2 separate regions of the Homo sapiens genome follow, and region 1 is linked to region 2. Evidence: promoter capture Hi-C in human tissues and cell types (Jung and others, 2019). All regions are on one chromosome and are shown on one strand. Each heading gives the region's core, a stretch centred on a gene start or on the middle of the fragment in contact. The rest is flanking DNA. Distances are from core to core; before and after follow the strand shown.

What was found. Contacts are between HindIII fragments. The study calls those that stand out against the background at their distance.
Region 1: a contact is called between a fragment that was not itself captured here and the fragment with the promoter of C9orf152 in region 2, in 2 of the 25 tissues and cell types used here (adrenal gland and aorta).

What each region holds. Positions count from the first base shown.
Region 1 is chr9:110,163,513-110,169,102 of GRCh38, forward strand. It overlaps PALM2AKAP2 (PALM2 and AKAP2 fusion), which reads left to right. Exons shown (of 11, transcript NM_007203.5): 11 at 4,887-5,590. The coding sequence ends at 4,985. Among named protein-coding and RNA genes, the nearest start is that of C9orf152, 42 kb to the right of the region's middle. The HindIII fragment of the contact is 7,446 bases long and covers 1-5,590 here.
Region 2 is chr9:110,204,215-110,209,891 of GRCh38, forward strand. C9orf152 (chromosome 9 open reading frame 152) reads right to left here and starts at 3,945. Exons shown (of 2, transcript NM_001012993.3): 1 at 3,173-3,945. The coding sequence starts at 3,365. RefSeq lists enhancers at 2,614-3,114, 3,115-3,615. The HindIII fragment of the contact is 9,571 bases long and covers 1-5,677 here.

The DNA.
Region 1 (5,590 bases), core at 994-3,493, 42 kb before region 2:
CTATTTTTGAGCTTGTTGTTCATCATTTCCATGCATGGTTTTATACTTATACTACAAATGTGTATATACATAAACAACACCTTATTTTTGCATGTTTGAAGACATTCTATAAGCGGTAAATCATGTTGCAGTATCTTCTGCTCCTGACTTTGTTCTGTCTGCATTGTTTTGAGATGTGTCCTTGTTGATCACTGTGGCTCTGGTTCATTCTTTATAACTGCTGTATGGTATTCCATTGAATGAATATATCACTATTTATTCAATCTTCTGTTATGGAAATGTAGACTATTTCCAGTTTTTCTTACCGTTAGAAATAATGCTTTTATGAATGTTATTATACATGTCTCTTTATGTACCTATGGAAGAACCTGTCTCTATATTTAGGAGTAGAAGCACTGGCTAGTAGCCTGATACATCCTAACATTTACTAGATATTGTAAATTATTTTTCAAGTTGGTTGCATTAACCTGTAGCATAATAAGTTTTTTGGTCTCTCTATTTAGCCAAAGAATTATATTTAAATATAGAGCTGACCTGCTGATTATCAGTAATTTTCTTTCATAAGATATCAAATGAATACTGAGAATATCATTCTGTACCTTCTTTAACGTCTAATTGTGGTTCTCATCTGGAGGATGGCAGTTTGAGAATTAGGACTAAGCCCGTCTCCCCTTTGAGTCCATTTAAAACAATGAAAATCTGGTCAAATATATCCAAGGAAGATAGAGTTGGGCCCACTCTGTCTTCAATTTAAAAGCAGGTTGGAAGATGAAATATAAATATTAATATGAATAGGGTGATATTATTTAACATATCTGTCTTTTGTTTCATATGTCCAAATTAAAATTTTCTATATTGATTGCTTTCAAAGTTAAGCAATTCACTTGAATTCCCTAAGCATTAGAGAGAAAAATTAATATTAAAGGGTTGTTGAGAGATAATTGTTTTTTATTCCCTACCAGACCTGAATGTGAATTTGTGAAAACAATAAAACTTTGTTTATTTATTTAGTTTACTTTTTTTTTTTTTTTTTTTTGAGACACCGTCTCACTCTGTCACCCAGGCTGAAGTACAGTGGTGCGATCTCAGCTCACTGCAGCCTCTGCCTCCCATGCTCAGGCGAGTCTCATGCCTCAACCTCCTAAGTAGCTGGGACTACAGGTGGCAGCCACCATGCCCAGCTAATTTTTGTATTTTTAGTAGAGACAGGTTTTCACTATGTTGGCCAGGCTGGTCTCGAACACCTAGTCTCAAGCAATCTGCCTGCCTTGGCCTCCCAAACTGCTGGGATTACAGGCTTGAGCCACTGCACCCAGCCACAATAAAACTTTAAATCAGATCGTTTTTTGTTTTCCCTTTTCCATTTCCATGGGGAGTGTTGATTGCTCTTCTCTGGTGTGTCTCCTTCTGGACTCCTTACAGCCATTGGGCAGCCAGATAGTCTGGTGGCCTCAAGCATCAACTCTGCACCCAGAGTGCAGAGTTCAAATCTTGGTTTTGCCTTCTGCTAACTGGGTAATTCTGGGCAAGTTACTTAACCTCCCTGTGCTTCAGGTTCTTCATATAAAAAATGGGAGTAATAACAGCATAAATGTCATAGACTAGTAGTGAGGATTCAAACAGTAACATCGTACTTAGGACATGAGTATGACATTATTAGAGCCCCAGAGACATATGCCTTTTTGCCCAGAAAATAAAGGAATGAACTTTAGAAAGTGAAGTTAATATGCAGTAATAAACAAGTAATAAAAGCTCTAAATTTGCTAGAGATTCACACACACACACACACACACACACACACACACACACACACACACGTCTGAATTAATTACAGAACAGATACTCATTCAAATACCTTGATTTTTGAATCTTCTGAAGACCAGTTGTGGTGCAGCTTTACTCCCAGACACCCCTGGGTCATAAGCCTTATGAACCCAAAGACAGCTTTATATCAAGATTGCCAGGTATTTCAGTAAGGATGTTTATTTTCTTGTCTGTGCCATTACTAGAGGCTTTAGATTTCACTAGAAATTTATTGTATGGCCATGGTAAGTGATTGTATGACCATGGTAAATGGGCATACATACTAGGGGAATGAATTAAGAAAAGAGAGCTCATTGTTGGTATAAGTGAATTACTGGGGCTCTTGACAAGTAGATGTCCAAACCCAAGCTATACTAAACGTTTCCATAATTATGAGTATTATTTTTCTGCCCATTATACTTTTCGTCACTAAACTCCATGAGGGAAGGGACTATTCTATCCTCAACACGAAGCACTGTGCCTTATACTTGGTAGGAAACTAATAAATATGTGTAAATTGGATTGATAGATGGCTTGTAACAAGAGTTCCTAAAGAGCAGAGCAAACTCAATTTGCTCAAGTTGTTTGAGAATTAAAATAGGGTTTAAATAACAAGACAAAGAACATTCCAAGAGGATGGGGACCATAGTTTTTAGAACTTTAGATTTATTTTTAGCTTTGATGTAAACCTTTCTGTTTGTATCTGCAATCTGAAAGGCAAAGAGATGATCCTTTTATACAATGTAGAGTTCTTTATAAAACGCCCTATTTGTATGCCACTTCATAATTTATATATCCCTTTCACATGATGATAGAAATAATTATTCCATCATAGTTTGAGAGCTTACTATGTGCTGGGAACTATACTTTACATACATTGCCTCATTGATTTATCCGTCCAACTTTATGCTGTAGTTTTTATGATCCCCATTTTACATGGGGATACTGAAGCACAGGGGTAAGTGACTTTTCCAAGGTCATGAGGATTTGAAGTAGACCTGCCTGGACTTCTGAGTCCACAGTGCCTTCTGAGAAAGCCTGTGAAGTGGGGTAGCTGTGTTCTCCATGTTATAGATAAGAAATGTGAGATAAAAGATGAACAACAAAGGACAAAACTGGAAATAGAGCCCAAGACTTCCACGTGCAGTCCAGTGCTGTTTTTCAGTTCCATGCTACCACACATTAGACTATTAGAAAATTTCTCTATTTAACTATACAGATTTGGAAGCATGCTTTCCTCCTACTAATTTGTTATTCGTAGATATCTGTGGATATTGAGTGAGTGACCGTGATATGCTTACATACAAAACACATTATGCAAAACACACATGGCTTGTGTGCTTAACAATGCATCATTCATTCAGCAAACGTGACTGAGGAGGAAAAGGGGAGGCTTCACAGAGGAAGATATGTTGAAGCTCTGGGTGGTCCATTCCTTTGACAAAGGTGCAGAGAAGCAGGTTGAGATGGACCCCCGATCTCCCATCTACCCACAATCTGCTTATGTCTGGGCTCCCACCTCTGCCTGTAACTGCATCTCCTTGCTTCTCTGGAGTTGCCAACTGTATTAGTCCATTTTCATACTGCTATGAAGAAATAACCAAGACTGGGTAATTTATAAAGAAAAAGAGGTTTAATGGACTCACAGTTCCACATGGCTGGGGAGGCCTCACAATCATGGCAGAAGGTGAAGGAAGATCAAAGGCACGTCTTACATGGCAGCAGGCAAGACAGTGTGTGCAGGGGAACTGCCCTTTATAAAACCATCAGGTCTGGTGAGACTTATTCACTATCACGAGAACAGCATGGGAAAACTCGCTCCCACATTGAATTACCTCCTATGAGTCCCTCCTGCTACACAAGGGGATTATGGGAGCTACAATTCAAGATGAGATTTGGGTGGAGACACAGCCAATCCATATCACCAACATCACTGTCCCTTGCCTAACTGATTATATTTAGAATGAGCAGTGCCTTCATTGCAGTTTGCATAATCAACCAATGTTGGCTCTACTGGACTTTTCTTCAAAATCAGAAACTGTACATCCTAAGCAAATGCCAGAACAATTGGCAAGAATGCCTGGACTTGTTTTCTGCATGGTCATGAAATAGAACCATTTTTCATATGTTGGCAACCTAAATGCCATTAATCTGGAATCTCTTCTTGATCAAACTGAAACTGGACCAGATAGGCTGAAGTCTCCTCTCGGGATTCCACAGACTGCCCTAGTGAATGGGAGGAAGGGAGGCTCTCCCTCAGTGGTGGTGAGCCTACTTGTCCTTAGTGTTGTCACCTTTCATTTCATTGATTAGCATGTGGGGTCTGAAGTTGCATCAGAATGCTGAGATTGCTTCTATTGATCCAAGAACTTTTTTTTTTCATGTAATGGCTTTTTTAGTTTAATTTTGCCAAAGTAGGTTTTTATACTATAAATATCATCATGGCTTATATAGGTTTGCAAAGCTTGATGGACTGAATCCACACTGGTCCCATTGTTTGGAATTATTTTCTGGTTTGCTTGTTTATGAAGAGACTAAGACCATCTATAGTGTGCTGTCTAATATGGTAATCACTAGTCACATGGAGCTATTCAAATTAAAATTAATTAAAATGAAATAAAATTAAATATTTAGCTTCTCAGCCACACTAGCCCTATTTCAAGTGCTCAATAGCCACGTATGGCTAGTGGCTACCATACTGGATAGCAGAGATACGTTTTCATCATTGCATAAAGTTCAATTGGACAGCACTGATCTGCTGCGTGTAGGGATCTGCTTTATCTGAAAACTTGATGCAGAATCACGGCTAGTTCAAAGAAACTTGCAGAACATTTCATGAAAATTAAATTTCTCTATGGTGAAAACTAGGGGTCAAGTAGCAGATGAATACTGGCTGTGAGATGAATGCATAACCAGAACCTCCCATTCCCCTTTTTCCAGCGTCTCTCCTATCTCCCAGCAGTGCTTTATCACTTTCTCCTCTCAAGTTGATAAAGAGAAAGGAAGAAAGAAACAGAGAAGTCGGTTTATGTTCATAATTAACATCCATGAACTCTGCATAATTTTTTCCCCTCTCTTTACAGGTCCTCGAGGCCACACGGGTTAATCGAAGAAAGAGCGCACTGGCTTTGCGCTGGGAAGCAGGGATCTATGCCAACCAGGAGGAAGAAGACAACGAATAAACTTCCTTCAACCCAGGAAGCGTCTTTGGTGCTTGGGAGACCAAGAAACCAAGAAATTAACAACTGAAAGCATTTTAATGGACTATTTATTAAAGTGCAAACAAACTCAGCAATCCTTATGTAGACCAGAAGCTGCAATATACAATGATGAAAATGAAACGAAAAGGAAGTCCCCCCATCAGACTCTGGACACCCAGGAATCAAAAGAGAAAGGACTTTTTTGGTGACTCAATCCCAGTGTCTGGTTTGGGGCCAATCTACAATGGATCCAAAAGGACAAAACATGTTACAAGCAAATCAACATAGTTGCTGCAGGCGGAACTGAGACCAGCCTCTCTGGGCGATGAAGGACAATGGTGGTAGGGCCACTTAGAGAGCAGTAGGGCCCAGGCTGGTGCAGCCTACATGGCACAGGATATTTCCCTGCACCAGTTTCCCACCTGTCACTTGCAGCATCAGAGGGTGTTGCATTAACTCCATTTTCTCCAGCAGCCATAAAATGAATGGCGTTTCTCTCCATATTTGCCCAGAAGAGGCAGTTATGATTCCACTTCTCCTACATTTAATTATTTTTAATTGAGAACAACTCATGATCACAATTCATA
Region 2 (5,677 bases), core at 2,695-5,194:
ATCACTGGGAGTAATTGGGGCTCCACAGACTTCTGAAAGTAGCTCAAGGTCCCCTGGGTACTTACGTTGCATCAGGGAAGGCACGCTGCTACTTGTAACTGCATTTCCAGAAGCTGGATCCATCGCATAATGCTAAGACAGGGTGAAGAAAGCTAATTTCGGAGCCCTTCCTTTCATTGATCAGCTCCTAGAATTTCTGAGCTTCTAAACGCAACCCAATGTCTTGAGACATTGACTTCTAGCTTTAGTAGGAGCCCAGTCTCAATGCTCACTCTCTCTTCCTGGGTCTTTTTGCTGCACTGGGCACTGAGGATCACGGTCCTCTAAAATCCCTCTACCAGCTTGGCTTCATGACATTAATTGCTCTTGATTTTCTTATACCACTTAAAATATGTTTAATTGTGGTAAAATACATAGAACATAAAATGTACCATCTTAACCATTTTTAAGTGCACAGTTTAGTAGTGTTCAGTACATTCACATTGTGGAACCAATCTCCAGAATTCTTCAGTTTCTCTGACACTCTATAAGCATTAAACAATAACGCCCCACTTCCCCATGCCCCAGCCTCTGGCAACCACCATTCTGCTTTCCTTCTGTCTCTTTAAATATGACTACTCTACATACCTCATGTAAATGGGATTATACAGTATTTGTCTTTTTGGGACTGACTGACTTCACTCAGCATAATGTCCTCAAGTTTTATCCATGTTGTAGTGTATGGCAGAATTTCTTTCCTTTTTATGGCTGAATGATATGCCTGTCCTCAAATTTTGACTGCTCTCTCCATCTTCCCTGGCTTCATTTCCTCCTCTTGTTCCTTAAATATTTGAGTATTCCAGAACTCTAATTTTCATCCCAGTTTCTTATCAATTTACACATGGATTTGCCACAGTTTTATCCATGCCCATGGCTTCAGCTACCATCTATAGATGAATAACCCCAAATCTAGCTCTCCAGCCCAAATGAGATCCAGGCTGGATGGAAGGTCTACAGGCAACTATCTCCAATGCAGTATATTCAAAAACAAGTTCATCTCTCTCTACAAAAAGCCTTTTTCTCCACAAAAAGCCTTTTTCTCCTGTATTCTCAAGGAAAGATACCACCATCTATCCTGTTGCTAAAGTATAGGGGACAATTAATTGCTCTTTTGCCTCCTTAGTGCCATTTTCACCTTATTTTTGTCACCTTACTCTGATTTCTCCCTGGATAATTACCTACTCCTTCACATTCAGTGCTAGTGTTTCAAGTGGCCTTCCTACTTAGATACATGTGACATACGTGATCTTGTCCTCAGCCAGTCAGTGCATAAGGCCTTGATGAGCTTTATACATATTAGTTCATTTTATTCCTACAATAACCCTATGATTTGGGTACTACAGTTATTCCCAATTGACAGGTGAGGAAACTGAGCCCCAGAAAATTTATGTAACTTGTTTAAAGCTGCATATTAAGTAAATGGCAGAGCTGGGACTCAAACTCAGGCTGTGCTCCAAGACCCAGTACATGACCACTCCATTACACAGTATGCTGCCTCTCACAGTTAGATAAAGAATGTGGAACTCAGCCAAGTATGGTGGTTCACGCCCAGCACTTTTGAAGGTCGAGGTGGGTGGATCACCTGAGGTCAGGAGTTCAAGAGCAGCCTGGCCAACATGGTGAAACCCCATCTCTACTAAAAAAAATACAAAAATTAACCGAGCATGGTGGCAGGTGCCTGTAATCCAGCTACTCAGGAGGCTGAGGCAGGGAGAATTGCCTGAACCCGGGAGGCAGAGGTTTCAGTGAGCCGAGATTGCACCCCACTGCACTCCAGCCTGGGCAACAGAGTGAGAATCTGTCTCAAAAAAAAAAAAATGTGGAACTGCAAACTGCTGAAAGTGCCCTGAATGACCCTGACCTAGCTGGGAGGTCAGAAGTCTTCTCGGAGAAAGCCACACCTGGGCACTCCTTGCATGAACCATAATTTAGCACCTAGTAATGATGGGAAAGGGGGTACCGAGTTACCAAGAGCAGGAGAAAGGACGAGCACAGGGTATAGTGAATTCTCTGGGGGCATGTTGAATTTGAGATGTCTTTGGATCATCCCCACTAAGCAATTAGATTTGTGAGTCTGAATTGCAGGTGTATTAAGCATTGTGTTTCCATTTGATAGGGATTTAAATTGATAAATGTTTGTTGAATAACTGAATGAATAAATACCCTCAAGGGTGGGATAGAGCTTTAGGAACCTTTCAGTTTATGCCCTGCAGAGATGGTGACTGTTTGGCTGTGCCAGTTCACTCCTGCCAGGAACGAGGATTCCATTGGTTGGCAACAGCCCAGGTAATGGGAGATGGGCTCCTTCAGCTCAGAGGTGCCACTTTTGTTCCCAAAAGGCAGCACACTTCCTGCCCTAGACAGAGAGGTCCCTCTGGCCCCTGATTCCTGCCCAGTCTGGCCTGGCAAAGGGCAGCCCAAAGAGTCTACTGAACTCTACAAATAACCACAGAATCCCACAGAGCCCAGCTTTGACCTTTCAGGGTATCTTCCCTTCTCCCTCAACCTGTTCCTCTGTTAGAGGAGGAAGGGCTGGGATTTGACATGCCCTTGCTTTCTGAGCCCTGTGCCTCTAACTCCCTCCTGGAATGAAATCTGAGTTCCTAAAGGGAGGAGGTTTCTCCCCATGAGGGGGTTTCTGTGTCCAATCACACCTCCCTGCCTGATGTTTGAGGCTGGATGAGCCTGGGATGCCTCATGGGTCTCTGAGCCCTAGGCGTCCTCTGGCCCAGACAGTTCCCAGGCTGTTGGGAACGCCATGTCTTCTACCTCCAGAGTGAATTTCTCTGGTTTGTAGGAGGTGCCTTAGTTAGACCCAGCCAGGAAGCAGAGCTCCTATCGCCATACCTGGGCTAGCAGGGGGGCCAAGCCTGGCTCACCAGGCTGACCAGTCTAGCAAGATTAGAACATCAGAGCAGAGGCCAGGAACAGTGCTGGCAGCCAGGTGCTTGGCTGAGGCCCCTGGCTCCCTTAGCAGGTGGGACAGCTGAGCAGAGCTGCCCTGAGCCCGCCTCCCCTGCTCTTCCCCACTGGGAGGGAGGGCTGGCAAAGCCCTGGCTCTGCCTCCCTGCAGCTCTGCCACTCAGGTCTCCCATGGTAAGTCTCTCCTTCCCCAGCACCTGTCCATTCCTACCTTTTGGAAGCACCAGGAGGTGGGCCTGGGTCCTCTGCTGCCTCTTCAAGCCTTCATACTGGGCTCGCAGGAACTGGATGCTGAGTGGGGGCCCTTTCCCAGGGGCCTGAGTCCTGGAGCCCTCAGCCATTAAGTGAGACCTAAGCTGCCAGAAGTGGGGCAGGGCTGGGCACGGGCAGGGCAACCCCTCCATCCGGATCCGGGAGAAAAGCAAACACAGCTGGGTGGGGCAGGACCTGGGGAGGGGAGAGAGAGGGAGGGGGCAGTGAGGGAGAAGGAGAAGTGACGGGCAAAAGGAGGGTGGAAAGAGGAGTGGGACTGAGGAAGGAGATAGAAAAATAAGGGGGAAGGAGAAAGATGAAGGGGAAGAGGAGGTAGGGATAGGGAGAAATGTGGGGGAGGAGAAAGGTGGGAGACAGTGGCAGTAAGAGGAGAAGGAAATGTCAGAGGAAAGAAGGGGCAGCGAAGGGGGAAAGACTGGAGGAAGGAGGTGATAGTGACAAGCGGGGATTAATGGGGCGAGAGAAGAAAGAGAGGGAGGAAGATGGAGACAGGCAGGAGGAGGCAGGGAAAGGAGTGATGGGGAGTGGGAGACCGAGAAGTAAGGGGAGGACTGGGGGAGCAAAGAGAAAGGCAAGCCCAGCTGCTCAGAGCCCTTCAGGGGGGTCAAGAAGGTGTCTTATTCCAGGTCCTTCCATTGCTTGATCCTAAAGTTTAGAATCCAATTCCCAGTGCCACGGTGAAGTCTCCCCTTTCCTGGCAGAGCTGGGACTGGGGCTGGGGAGTGCTAAGCTCGCGCTCTGCTCACACATTTTGGACTGGAACGTGGCCACTTTTCAGCAAACCTGCCGGTTGGGTTTGCAGTAGTTCAAAGAACACCCTCGGGAGCTTCACAAGGTCGGTGCCTCTGGATGTGTGCCCCGCGGCCACACCCTAAAGAAACCCAGTAGCAAAGATCTCCCCAAGATCTCCACTCAGACCCCAACACACACCCCAGGTGAAAATTCAGCCCTAAAGTCAGCCATGGGACAGAGCCCAGGGGAATCTTGGCCTCGGGCCAGCCCTACCCCTTGGACATTTGGTGCAGCCTCTGCCGTCTCAGCATTCTCCAACCAAGTGGTAAGTTAGGCATCCCCTCACTCTCTGCTTGCCAGCCTCAACATTTCCACATTGCTTTTGAATCCCAGACCCTCTCCCTCTTACACCAGCTTTGACCTAGCCTTGCTGCATTTGGTCAACTAAGTCCCTTTCTATCTTCTCCTATCACGGTGCTTACTGATTACCCAATTACCCAATATGTCTACAGAGGCAATGGAAACAGAGTAGAGCCTGAACCTACAAGACATTTTGGACATTAACCAGACAAGATCTAGTCATTTGATGTGGGGGAGCCGTGGAAGATGGAGAGCAAATCTTCACTGGGTAGTATATGTTAGTTTTGCTAGGGCTGCCATAACGAAATCCCACAAACTGGATGTCTTAAACAACAAACATTATTGTCTCAGAGTTCTGGAGGTTAGAAGTCCAAAGTCAAGGTGTGAGCAGGGTTGGTTTCTTCTTGGAGCTGTGTGAGAGTATCTGTTCCATGCCTCTCACCTTGCTTCTGATGGTTTGCTAGCAATCTCTGGTATTCTTTGGCTTGCAAAAACATTGCCTAATCTCTGCCTTTATCTTGACATGATGTTCTTCCTTTTTATTTTTTTATTTTATTTTTTTTTTGAGAGGGAGTCTCACTCTGTCGCCCAGGCTGGAGTGCAGTGGCGTAATCTCAGCTCACTGCAAGCTCTGCCTCCCGGGTTCGCATCATTCTCCTGCCTCAGCCTCCCGAGTAGCTGGGACTACAGGCACCCGCCACCGCGCCCAGCTAATTTTTTGTATTTTTCGTAGAGACAGGGTTTCACCGTGGTCTCGATCTCCTGACCTTGTGATCCGCCCGCCTTGGCCTCCCAAAGTGCTGGGATTACAGGCGTGAGCCACCACACCCGGCCTAATATGATGTTCTTCCTATGTGGGTGTCTCTGTGCCCAATTTTCCCCTTTTTATAAGTACAGCAATCACATTGGATTAGAGCTCAATCTGTCTCAAAAAAATACCGAGAGAGATAGCCAAAGCTTCCTCATACCTTTTTATCGGTAGATCACTCTATCATGAAGGCAAGAGCAACCCATCCATGCTGGACCAGCTGCACCTGCCATGAAATCATGGCAGTAGACATCATGGCAGTAGGCTGGCCACAATGGCTCACAACTGTAATCCCAGCACTTTGGGAGGCTGAGGTGGGTGTATTGATTGTGCCCTGGAGTTCAGGACCAGCCTGGGCAACATAGTGAAACTCTGTATCTACAAAAATTAGCCAGGCATGGTGGCACATGCCTGTAGTCCGAGCTACTCGGGTGGCTGAGGTGGGATGATCACTTGAACCCAGAAGCTCGAGGCTGAAATGAGCCATGATTGCACCACTGTACTTCAGCCTGGGTAACAGAGTGAGCTCCTGTCTCAGAAAGA